4 separate regions of the Homo sapiens genome follow, and regions 1, 2 and 4 are each linked to region 3. Evidence: promoter capture Hi-C in 16 types of primary human blood cells and fetal thymus (Javierre and others, 2016). All regions are on one chromosome and are shown on one strand. Each heading gives the region's core, a stretch centred on a gene start or on the middle of the fragment in contact. The rest is flanking DNA. Distances are from core to core; before and after follow the strand shown. Region 1 overlaps HNRNPUL1 (heterogeneous nuclear ribonucleoprotein U like 1). Region 2 overlaps CXCL17 (C-X-C motif chemokine ligand 17). Region 3 holds the start of CD79A (CD79a molecule). Region 4 overlaps LIPE (lipase E, hormone sensitive type).

Region 1 (3,022 bases), core at 133-2,632, 570 kb after region 3:
GGTTTCAACCCTGCTTCCTTCCTGCTAGGAGGTGCCATGTCATTTATTCAAAGAAAACAAAACGAAACCAAACAAAACAGGGCAAACACATTTCTTAATAAGTGCAGTTTGTTAAAATCATGTTAAAACATATGAGTCAAGGGGAAGTAAAAATAAAGGGTATCACTGTAGGAAAAGCTTTTGGGTCTGGCACCTGGGAGACCACTGGAGAGGAGGCAGTGGGAGAAACTTCAAGTTCTGAAGGGAAGGAGCCCCCCAACCTCCCCTTCTTCCCTCTCACCCACTGAATCCCACCAGAAACTACCAAGACGCCCGGAATAAAAGGTTTCAAGTTCAATAGTCACTCTCTCCAAATACAAAAAGCAGTTACAATTCAACTGAACACAGAAGCTTGTGTGCAAAGTTATGGGGAACTGGGGCATCGTATAAAAAGTTGGGTTAAAGATGATTCTGTGGTTTGGTTTTGTTGTGTTTTGTTTTGTGGCTCTTCCTCAGTCACCTGAACTCAGGAAAGAAATGCTTATCTTGATGAAATATCAACAGCCCACCCACAGTAAAAAGACAAATTCTAAAAATTAAAAAAAAGCGCATAATTACCAAAAAAAAGTCACTGCTTCCTCCCCCTCCCCATTTTGCTTTTTAAACTTTTTTTTTTTTAAGTTTTGATTTTTTTTTTAATCCTGAAAAGTAGACAGTAAAACAGCTCCTGGGAGAATTTACAACCAACTGCATGAGGGTCTGGGAAGCTGAGGGGCTGGAGCAGGGTTGGGAGAGTGAACAGGAGGGGATTCTCCCCTCAGTCACTGTAGCCTCACTGTATGATCAAGGGAGGTGGGGATTATTTAGTCAAAAAGGAAGAAGGTAGGAAGAACAGGAGGTGGAAGGCTGGGGAGGTGGGGACAAACAGAAAATAAAAGGTCATTGTTGCCTGTTTGAATCCAGAAAAAAATGCCTGGCCCTATGGAGGGGAAGGAAGCCCCTCAGAGGGGAGGCAGTGGGCTGGAGGGAGGCAGCCCTGGGATGACCCCATCCCCAGCACCACGGGATCTGGCGGGGGCAGAGGAGGGGCCGAGGCAGGCGCTGGTGGAGGAAGCCGGCAGGGGCCTCCGGGAGCCTCTGGGTCACACTGGCTACTGTGTACTTGTGCCACCCTGTGTGTTCCCGGAGTAGCTCCCGTAGTCGTAGTTCCCGTAGTATGGCGGCCACTGGCCCTGGTTCTGATAGTACTGGTTCCACTGCTGGGCATACTGGGGAAAGAAACCAAGAACACCAAGTTGTCCTGCATCCACCACACATTTAGCCTCCCCACCAGCCCCACCCTCACCTAGGGCAGAGACAGCTGCAGTGACAACAGTTGAACACAGGTCCCCTGACAGAGAAATCAAGGCACCTTGGAAAGACCTGACACCACACAGGTAGGCAGTTAGGGACTGAAGCCCAGGTCTCAGCTTGTCAACCCAGTGCCTTTTGGGTATAGCTAGATATCATAGTCAAAAGATTTAGTAACAGGTATGGGGGCCTGGGCACCAACCTGCAGCAGGATTTGGAGCCCCCTGTCTATGGTGCTGAAAGAGGACTCTGAGGCCCCTGGTACTTAGGCCAGCCCTTCCCCTTCACTTGCTAGACTGTGGAGGGGGCTAGGATACCAATTACCTAGCAACCAGTGCAGAAGTGTTGACCAAATGGAATGGCTGCACCAGATGAACGCCAGGCCGAGGCCAGCAGGCTGTCTTTTTAGGGATAAGCAGGGACTTAAGTCTGGGAATACACACCCAGGAGGGGCCCATGGAAGTCTCTCCATCCAGTTGGCCCCCAGTCTGGCACCTACCTGCTGATACTGGTTATAGCTGGGCTGAGGGTAGGTCTGTGCAGTGGGGGGTGGCGGTGGGGTATAGGGGGCCGGGTTGTAACCGCCGTAGCTCCCATAGTTGTAGGCAGGTGGTGGTGGAGGTGGAGGCGGTGGGGCTGTGTAGCCCTGGCTGTAACCTCCCTGGTTGTAGGGTGGCTGGCTGTAACTCGGCTGGAAAGTGGAGGGAAAAAAGCCAAAGCTCTGTGAAATAGAGGAAATCTGCAGATGTGAAATGCTGGGATGGAAAAAGGGCCTTTTTAAGTGGTTGGCCCACAGGGGCCCTTCCCTTGCCTAGTGGACATTGTTTGTGGGCTGAGAAGGAGGAGAGCCAGCTCCATGCCATGGTAGGGCAGGATGAAGGGCAAGCCCCAGGGCTGTGATGTGGACTCTAACCCCAGCTCTGAGACCCCCAGGGAGCAAGGTACACGGCACTTCTTGAAATCTCAGTTTTCTTTTTTATAAAATGAGAATCACAATAGAACAAGAACAACTCCTTTAGCTTGCCCTGGGTATCCAATAAGCTTGTGTGTATAAACCACTGGGTACTCAACAGGTGGTGGTAGTTGTTACTGGAAGATCTGCTGAGAAACAGTAGTGGCAATTGACTAAGTGCTTCCCAAGTACAGGTTGGATCATTACATCATATAATCTCCATATAGAACCTAGGGGTAGGTCCCACTAGCCCCATTTTAAAGAGAAAGAAACTGAGGCTCAAGATGAAATTTCTGGGCCAAGGAAAAAGGACTTGACCCCAGGTCTGCCTAGTCCCAGAGCTATAGTGCCACCCATTCCTCACAACAAACCTTGGAAGGGACTTCTACTAACACCTTTATGAGGAAAATGAGGCCCAGAGACGGGAAGCTATTTGTCCAAGCTCACAGAAACAGGATGTTGTGGGGCTGGGGGTTTGGATCTGTGCCTGCCCAACTCTTGTTCTAAGAAATATTCTAGTTAGCTGGGCCTGGGAACCATCCATTGGTCTCCTGGCAGCTGATTCCAGGCCCGGCATGAGGAAAGTGCTTGGGAAATGGCTGTGCGATAACTGAAAACCTCTCTGGTTTACAGGAGCCTGTGCATACCAGAGCCAGGGCACTGGCTTTCCAAGAATGGGAACTGAGCCTGGAGCTGCTCAGGATTGAAGCTCTCTGTGCAGAGGGCAAGTCCTCAGCAACC
Region 2 (2,890 bases), core at 189-2,688, 560 kb before region 3:
TCCCCATGTATATTTCCGCTTGTGAGCACCATCTCCCCAAAGGCCACTTTGAGGTGAAATGGCTATGTTACATACTCAGCATCAACTTGGTCCTAAAATCAGGAGGCATTCTCCCTTCTCCACCCCAATTTCCAACATCCCCTCCTTTGTAGAGAGAGTGCTCTGGAAGCTGTTAAGCCCCATAGCCCTAGGGCCTAGACCACTGTTCTGAAAGGGAAGACTTTTCCATCACTATGACAGACACCCAGGCTAGAGTCCTCTGCCTGGATTCAAAGCTGTAGCCCCAACCTGCCTTTCTAGTGTACCTCCCTCTACTCACTAAAAATACTATTTCTCCAACCAAACTAACCTGTTTGCCCTTCCCTGAACAGGTATTGTGTTTTTCCACCAGTTCAACTTTGCTCACACACCCAGCTCAAAACCACCTTCCCACAGCTTCCTTCAGTTCCTCCCACAGCCAGACATGTGGTCTCCCTCCTGAGCGCTGGCTTAGCCCTGCTGGACACTCTCTTCTTGCACTTATCATCTGCTGCCTTATATTGAGGGCCTTCATGTGCCTTTCCTGCCCCCACCCCCTGTCCTTCTAGGCTGCAAACTACTTGGTGACACAGACTGGTGCACTGTTTCCATATCCCTCACGCTATCCAGCTCAGTACTCAGCAAACATTAGCTAACTGCAAGAATGCATCCTCAGGTTGCTAAATCAAACCAGGGCTTCATAGCAGCTCTACTGACATTTGGGCTGAACAGTTCCTTGCGGTGGGGGCTGTTCTGTGTATTGTGAGATGTTCAGCAGCATCCGCGTGGCCTCTCTCCCCTACATGCCAATAGCAGCCTCCCCTCTCCCTCATCCAAACCCCTGTTATGGCAGCCAAAAATATCTCTAGACATCGCCAAATGACCCCGGAGGGGGAACCACCCTTGGTCAACAACCACTGCTCTACACCAATACTTCTCTGCATGGCCACACTTTTAGACTCACCTAGACCTTTACACTCAGCTTGGAAGTCAGGGGGACCTAGATCCTGGCTCTGCCACACACTTTGCAACCCTAGACAAGTCGCCTCACTTTTTTGAGTTTCAGTTTTATCATCTTAAAATGAAGAAAATACCACTTGTCACACACACTTGTGAAGATTAAATGATCCGCAGCGTGTCCTAGAAAGGGTTTAATAAATGGACTGAGTAGTTTCTAAGTCGCTCCTAAAGCACGAGGGTGAGGAACTGGGGAAAGCTCCCTGCGCCACCAGGGGGCGCCATCACAAACCACGTCGAGTGGGTGGCGGCCGGGCTCAAATCTTGTTTCCCAGCCAAGCAAAGTTTTGCAGTGCAGGCCTGAGTCTGAGCTACTTAGTGGCTAAAGGAAATAATAGCTCCTCCATCCCCAAAATAAATCTCAGAATAAAGTCTAATCTTATTTTATCTCTTAATCACATACATGCTCAATATGCTTTTCACAGGGTTAAGGGAAATAGAAATAAGTGAGAATATATGAGGTCATTAGGAAATAAATTACTTAAAATAACAGATTATTCATTAATTATAATATTATTTAATTATAAAATTACTTATAATATCAGACACATTAAGAACTCCTATATCACAAGCATTGTTCTAATCACTTCACACTTACTATCTCATTTGTCCTCACAAATCTAATGCATTTCTTACTTTTTCTTACTTTTCATTTTTCAGACTTTGAAAAATATTGTAAAAATAGAGTTCCAGTACAGCCTTCATCCAATTGTTTTCAAACAATATCTTATGTAACCATAATACAATTATCAAAACCAGGAGATTAGCACTGATACCATAATATTAACTAATCTACAAATGTTCAAATCTTGCTAATCATCCCACTCATGTCCTTTTTCTGCTCCAGACTCCAATCTGGGATCCCACTGAATAAAATGTCAGATCTCCTAGGTCTCCTCCAACCTGGGATAGTTTCTCAGTCTTTCCCTCTCTTTCAGGACCTTGACACTTTTGAAGAGTTCTAGCCAGTTGTTTTGTAGAATGCCCCCTGAATATGGGTTTGTCTGATATTTCCGGCTACACATTTTGGGCAAGAATACTTCAGAAGTGATGTATCCTTCTCTGGACATCCCAGCAAGAGCCCCAGGATGTCGATATCTCTCATTACTGATGAGGTTCACTTTAAGCACTTGGTTCAGGTGGTGTCTGCCAGGTTTCTCTACTGTAAAGTTACTATTCATCTTATTGTAATTAATAAGTATCTTGTGGAGAGACACTTTGGAAATATGTAAATAGCCTGTTTCTTCTCATCATACTTTTTTTTTTCTTGTTATTCACCAGTTATGGCATCATCATACTTTTAATATTAACTTTTAGAATCTATGGATGATTGTTTCCTATAAAGAATTATTACTGTGGTGTTGGCCAAATAGTGATTTTCTACTTCCATTGTTCCTTCTACATTTATTTAATCGGAATTCTGCCATAAGAAAGAGTTATTCCTTTTTCTTTTTCTTTTTTTTTTTTTTTTTTTTTGAGATAGAGTCTTGCTCTGTTGCCTAGGCTGGAGTGCAGTGGTGTGATCTTGGCTCACTGCCGCCTCCACCTTCTGGGCTCAAGCGATCCTCCCACCTCAGCCTCCTGAGTAGCTGGGACTACAGGCAGACACCACCACACCCAGCTAATTTTTGTATTTTTAGTAGAGACGGGGTTTTGTCATGTTAGCCAGGCTGGTCTCTAATTCCTGGCCTCAAGTGATCCCCCCACTTTGGCCTCCCAAAGTGCTGGGATTACAGGCGTGAGCCACCATGCCTAGCCTCTTCCTTATTTATTTATTTGTTCAGTTATTTATTTATATCAGCATGGACTCATGAGTATTTATGGGTTGGAATCCACTACTATCATTATTTATTAT
Region 3 (2,931 bases), core at 214-2,713:
AATGAGACTCCCTGGGATGGTAAGACCCCTGGGAGGCCCTTCTCACCTCTGCAGCGCCATCTCTTGCCCCCCTCCCGCATACCCACTTTGTACTCTGGCCCTGTGAACTCTCTGGATTTTGGATGTTTGTTCCAGGCACTGGAGGACCGCTGTCCAGACAGCTCCTTCCAGAAGCAGTGCAGGCGTCCCCTCCTCCCGCAGCCTTCCCGGTCCATTTTTGCACCCCAGCCTCAGCCAGGCCCAGCACCTGGCGCTTTTTCTTGTGTAATCATTCACAGAACCCTAGAAGTAGGTTCTCTCCTTAGCCCCATTTTACAGGAGGGATGGCTGAGGCTCTGGGAGGGCAGGCGGGTTGCCAGCATCACCAGGCAGTCAGGAGTGGCACTGGGTTCAAACTCTTGGCTCCCTGGCCTCTCCCTGCCTGGGCTGAGGAGCCAGTCTGTGGCCTGCCCTGGCCTGTGACCCTGTGCCTGGCCCTCATTCTCTGTAAGTTGTATGTGTCAACCTAGGGGTCAGGGGTGAGTTCAGTCCTTGGGCTGGGCTGCTGGTGATTGAAGGGGCTCAGAGCGGGGTGGAGACTGGGGGTGTCTCTGAGTGAGACGAGGCGGCTCAGGCTGGCTGCAGTGTCCAATCCGGGCTCCTCTGGGAAGCCCCAGCTCTCAGCCAGGCCTCCCACATGGCCAGTCCCCTCTTCTGGAGGTAGGTGGAGGAGGGAGGTGAGGAAGAGAGAAGGAGGAAGAGATGGGGAGAGGGGCCGAGCACCCTCATCGTCACGGGCTTAAGACTCAGACGTGAACTCCAATCCTTGCTCCCAGTGTCCCCTTGGGTGGGGAACCTTTTTCTCTGAACTCCTGGGTTAGCGTGGCCACAGCCCCTGCCAGCTGTCCTTGAGCAGGTGAGGGGGAGTCCATGAGACACCCATTCCCCCAGTGCTGAGAAGGGACTCCCAACAGAGAGAGGCACCTGAGGTTTAAGGCAGAGAAAGCTTTTTCTCCCCTTGACAGACGCTGAATGCTGCTACCCCTAAGTCCCCTTCCTGCCCCCAGCCCTGGTGCTCAGTCAAGAGCAACTTTAGTTCCTTATTTTGGCCTGTGGGGAACAGGAGGTGGGGGAGGTGACTCTTGCTCCTGCCTCCCTGTGTGAGACTGTGGACGCCCCTTCTCCTTCGCTGGGCTCCCTCCAGCCCCACCTTGGCCCATCTTGGCACAGATACGATTTCTATAGGCATCTTCCCTGGGTCCCCTATCCTCTGCCTCCTCTTCCCCTTTCCCTGAGCCCCCTTCCCTCTGCCTGTGCCCTCTCTGCAGCCTCCACAGCTTCCCCCACCTCCCGCCAGTTCCTGCCCTTTGGCCACATACCCAGGTAGACAGCAGACAGCAGGAAGAGGAGGAAGATGGTGGCAGGCAGAGCTTGGAGGACTCCTGGACCCCCAGGCATCTTCTCCCAGTGGGTTGGTTAGTTTGAGTTGCAGCAGTCCCAGGGTACCAGATCCCTACCCCAAACCCCACCCTACTTCCTGCCCAGCCCCCCGGAGATGGGCTCCAGTGGCCCTCGCTACTGGGCCCTTTGCTTGTTGGGCCTGGGGACAGCCCCTGCCGGGTATGCTTCAGGCTGTGAGTGGAGAGAAACTGCTCCCTGCACCTGTGGTGGCCACAATTCCCCTGAGAGGTGGCTGCTTGGGTGGGGGAAGAGGCTGGTTCAAGGGCTGGCTCGTCACTGCTGAGCCTTTGGAAGGAAGCCTAGGGAACCTGAGTCCTGGGCATGTGTCATGGGCAGGTGATGGTTCTGAGCTTGACCTCTCCCCCTGCCTGGACTTGGGCAAACCTTGTCCCTTCCCTGACCCCATTTCCTTGCTTCTTGGGATTAGAAACAAGGACTTAAAGGGGTTGTCACATGCACAGAAATGGCCCACAGTAGGCGCCCAGTAAATGTTAGTCACTATAAATACTCATGAAGAATAAATAAGGCAGGCTGACCTGTGGCTGACTACCCGTGTGACTAGGTGGGCACTTTGATCCTTCGAAGCTTGACATTTTTCATCTGTGAGATGAGGACCAGAATGTCTCCCTGTCTCATTATGTGATACGAGATGGTGTTCCTGGTATTCAAGGAGTGAGAACCATGATCAGCTCTTTACTGGAATTCTTTTTTTAAAAAAACAGGCCAGCTATGGTGGCTTATGCCTGTAATCCCAGCCCTTTGGGAGGCTGAGACAGGAGAATCACCTGAGGTCGAGTTTGAGACCAGCCTGGCCAACATGGCGAAACCCCATCTCTACTAAAAATACAAAATTAGCCAGATGTTGTGGCACATGCCTATTATTCCAGCTACTCAGGAGGCTGAGGCAGGAGAATCAGTTGAACCCAGGAGGTGGAGGTTGCAGTGAGCTGAGATCACACCATTGCACTCCAGCCTGGGTGACAAAAGCGAAACTCTGTCTCTAATAATAACAATAATAACAACAACAACATATATTTTTCTTCTTTTTTTTTTTTAAGAGGGATGGGATCTTGCTATATTGCCCAGGCTGGTCTTGAACTCCTGGCCTCAAGCAATCCTCCTGCCTCAGCTTCCCAAAGTGCTGGGATTACAGGCATGTGCCACTGTGCACAGCCAGAAGTTGTTTTATATTGACCTGCCATGACTGGCAAGGTAGGCCATCCCCCATTTTACAGAGGGGGAAACCGAGGCCAGAGAGGGGAGGTTGTCACTTGCGGGTGTCATACAGTCTAGGGGTGGTGGACAGAGATTCAAAGTCATCTTTGTGTTGCTCCCAGTTTCCTTTGAGCATGTCTGGTAGGAGGGAAATGAGGTCTGAGTGGGGAGGGCGGAGTTGCTGAGATATTTGTGAGCAGTTAGGGGACCCTCACACACATACAAGGGGATATATAAAATAAATTTATTGCAGGGAGATTTTTGGTAGCAAACATT
Region 4 (3,196 bases), core at 453-2,952, 540 kb before region 3:
TAATCCCAGCTATTCAAGAGGCTGAGGCAGGATGATCACTTGAGGTCCAGTGTTCAAGACCAGGCTAGGCAACACAGCCCTGTCTCTTAAAAAACACAAAAAATTAGCCAGATGCAGTGACTCTCCCAGCTACTCAAGAGGCCAAGGCAGGAGGATCTCTTGAGGCCTGGAATTCAAAACCAGCCTAGGCAATATAGCAAGACTCTGTCTCTAAAAACCTGGAAAAAAAAAAATGAACCAGGCATAGTGGTGCCCATCTGTAGTCCCCACTACTCAGGAGGCTGAAGTAGGAGGATCACTTGAGCCCAGAAGTTCAAGGCTGCAGTGAGGTATGATCGTGCCACTACACTCCAGCCCAGGTGACACAGCAAGAATCCATCTCTAAAACTAAAAATTTTAAAAATAAGAATAACAAATAATAAGACTTAAAAGTTGAAATTGGCCGGGCGCAGTGGCTCACGCCTGTAATCCCAGCATTTTGGGAGGCCGAGGCAGGCGAATCACGAGGTCAGGAGATCGAGACCATCCTAGCTAACATGGTGAAACCCCGTCTCTACTAAAAATACAAAAAATTAGCCAGGTGTGGTGGCGGGCGCCTGTCGTCCCAGCTACTCAGGAGGCTGAGGCAGGAGAATGGCGTGAACCCGGGAGGCGGAGCTTGCAGTGAGCTGAGATTGCGCCACTGCACTCCAACCTGGGCGACAGAGCGAGACTCCGTCTCAAAAAAATATAATAATAATAACAAATAACAAGACTTAAAAGTCGAAATTACTCCTTGGCTGGTGGGCTGCAGAACAGATCATGTGTTAGCGGGCATGAAAACACATTAATCTACTCCACCAGGGCCCTTTGGTAACCACATGCATTGTCATTGAGAAATATTTTGTTGTTTTCTGTGCAGTCCGTCTCAACAGTGGGCTTGAAATATTCAGTAAACCATGCTGTAAACAGACGTGCTGTCATCCAGGCTTTGTTCCATTTAAGAGCATAGGCAGAGTACATTTGGCGTAATCCTGAGGGCCCTAGAATTTCTGGAATGATAAATGAACACCGGCTTCAACTGAGTCACCAGCTGCATTAGCCCCTAACAAGGGGGTCAGCCTGGCCTTGAAGCTTTGGCGCCCAGGCACTGACCTCCCCTCCAGCTAGGAAAGTCCTGGATGGCATCTTCTTCCAATACCTGGTGGTTTTATCTACACTGAAAATATGTTGCTTAATGTAGCCGTCTTCATCAATGATCTTAGCTAGATCTTCTGCATAACTTGCTGCGGCTCCTCCAGCAGCACTTGCTACATCACCTTGCACTTTTTTTTTTGAGACAAAGTTTCACTCTTGTTGCTCAGGCTGGAGTGCAATGGCACGATCTCGGCTCACTGCAACCACCGCCTCCCAGGTTCAAGTGATTCTCCTGCCTCAGCCTCCCAAGTAGCTGGGATTACAGGCATGCGCCACCACGCCCGGCTTCTTTTTTGTATTTTAAGTTGAGATGGGGTTTCTCCATGTTGGTCAGGCTGGTTTCAAACTCCCGACCTCAGGTGATCCACCTGCCTCAGCCTCCCAAAGTGCTGGGATTACAATCGTGAGCCACGATGCCCGGCCGTCACCCTGCACTTTTATGTTACAGAGATGCCTTCTTTCCTTAAATCTCATGAATCCACCTCTGCTAGCTTCCAACCTTTTTTCTGCAGCTTCCTCACCTCTCTCACCCTTCAAAGAATTGAAGAGGGATAGGGCTTCGCTTGGGATTAGGCTTTGGCTTAAGGAAATGTGGCTGGTTTGACCTTCTATCCAGACCGTTCAGACTTTCTCCATATCCACAATAAGCCTAGTTCACTTTTTTTTTTTTTTTCCAGACGGAGTCTCACTCTGTCACCCAGGCTGGAGTGCAGTGGCGCGATCTCGGCTCACTACAAGCTCCGCTTCCCAGGTTCACGCCATTCTCCTGCCTCAGCCTCCCTAGTAGCTGGGACTACAGGCACCCACCACCACGCCCGGCTGATTTTTTGTATTTTTAGTAGAGCTGGGGTTTCACCGTGTTAGCCAGGATGGTCCCGATCTCCTGACTTCGTGATCCGCCCGCCTCGGCCTCCCAAAGTGCTGGGATTACAGGCATGAGCCACCATGCCCAGCTAAGACTGGTTCACTTTCTTATCATTCATGTGTTCACTGGAGTAGCACTTTTAATTACTTTCATGAATTTTTCCTTTGCATTCACAACTTAGCTAACTGGCAGAAGAGGCCTAGTTTTTAGCCCGTTTCAGCACTGGACATGCCTTCCTCACTAAGCTTAATCACTTCTGGCTTTTGATTTAAAATGAGAGACATAAGACTCTTCTTTCACTTGAACACTTTGAGGTCATTGTAGGGTTGTTAATTGGCCTGATTTCTATTTTATTTTATTCTATTTTTCATCTCATTTCATTTATTTGAGACAGACTCTCGCTCTATTTTCCAGGCTGGAGTACAATGGTGTGATCTTGGCTCACTACAACCTCCACCTCCCGGGTTCAAGCGATTCTCCTGCCTCAGCCTCCCGAGTAGCTGGGATTACAGGCACACACCACCATGCCCAGCTAATTTTTGTATTTTTAGTAGAGATGGGGTTTCAGCATGTTGGCCAGGCTGGTCTCAACCTCCTGACCTCAAGTGATCCACCTGCCTCAGCCTCCCAAAGTGCTGGGATTACAGGCATTAGCCACCGTGCCCGGCCTCAATATTGTATGTCTTAGGGAATATGGAGGCTCGAGAAGAGAGATGGGGGAAATGGCTGGTCAGTGGAGCAGTCAGAACACACACAGCATTAATCGGTAAAGTTCGCCCTCTTACGTGGACATGGTTGGTGGTGCCCCCACTCACAATAGTAACACCAGAGATCATTGATCACAGATCATCATAACAAATATAATAATAATGAAAAAGTGTGAAACACTGTGAAAATTACCAGAATGTGACACAGAGACACAAAGTGAGCAACTGCTGTCAGAAAAATGGTGCCAACAGACTGGTTTGACGCAGGGTTGCCACAAACCTTCAATTTGTAAAAAATGCAGTATGTGCGAGGCACAGTGAAGCAAGGTATTCCTGTAGTAAACTGTATAGTATGCTAGATGGTGACAAGTGCCGCAGAGAAAAATCACCCAATACACCATCTCAGGAAGGCCAAGTGAGCCCACAAAGCAAACCACATGCAGAACAT

The links. Contacts are between HindIII fragments. The CHiCAGO score rates a contact against its expected background, and 5 or more counts as called.
Region 1: a fragment that was not itself captured here is called in contact with the fragment with the promoter of CD79A in region 3 in 1 of 17 cell types (non-activated CD4 T cells); the score reaches 6.3 in non-activated CD4 T cells.
Region 2: a fragment that was not itself captured here is called in contact with the fragment with the promoter of CD79A in region 3 in 1 of 17 cell types (total CD8 T cells); the score reaches 5.7 in total CD8 T cells.
Region 4: a contact is called between a fragment that was not itself captured here and the fragment with the promoter of CD79A in region 3, in 1 of 17 cell types (erythroblasts). The highest score is 5.6, in erythroblasts.

The regions. Positions count from the first base shown.
Region 1 is chr19:41,304,674-41,307,695 of GRCh38, reverse strand. HNRNPUL1 (heterogeneous nuclear ribonucleoprotein U like 1) reads right to left here. Exons shown (of 15, transcript NM_007040.6): 14 at 1,829-2,020; 15 at 1-1,247. The coding sequence ends at 1,131. LOC105372401 (a long non-coding RNA gene) reads left to right here. Exons shown (of 2, transcript XR_935968.4): 2 at 1-157. Among named protein-coding and RNA genes, the nearest start is that of CCDC97, 4.0 kb to the left of the region's middle. The HindIII fragment of the contact is 1,980 bases long and covers 393-2,372 here.
Region 2 is chr19:42,438,875-42,441,764 of GRCh38, reverse strand. The region is part of intron 1 of CXCL17 (C-X-C motif chemokine ligand 17); the gene reads left to right. All of the region lies in intron 1 of LIPE-AS1 (LIPE antisense RNA 1), which reads right to left. Among named protein-coding and RNA genes, the nearest start is that of CXCL17, 2.6 kb to the left of the region's middle. RefSeq lists a silencer at 1,301-1,390. The HindIII fragment of the contact is 3,145 bases long and covers 1-2,890 here.
Region 3 is chr19:41,875,811-41,878,741 of GRCh38, reverse strand. It overlaps CD79A (CD79a molecule), which reads right to left and starts at 1,463. Exons shown (of 5, transcript NM_001783.4): 1 at 1,359-1,463. The coding sequence starts at 1,437. RefSeq lists a silencer at 1,262-1,321 and an enhancer at 2,729-2,798. The HindIII fragment of the contact is 1,040 bases long and covers 988-2,027 here.
Region 4 is chr19:42,414,464-42,417,659 of GRCh38, reverse strand. All of the region lies in intron 1 of LIPE (lipase E, hormone sensitive type), which reads left to right. All of the region lies in intron 1 of LIPE-AS1 (LIPE antisense RNA 1), which reads right to left. Among named protein-coding and RNA genes, the nearest start is that of LIPE, 11 kb to the left of the region's middle. The HindIII fragment of the contact is 1,173 bases long and covers 1,116-2,288 here.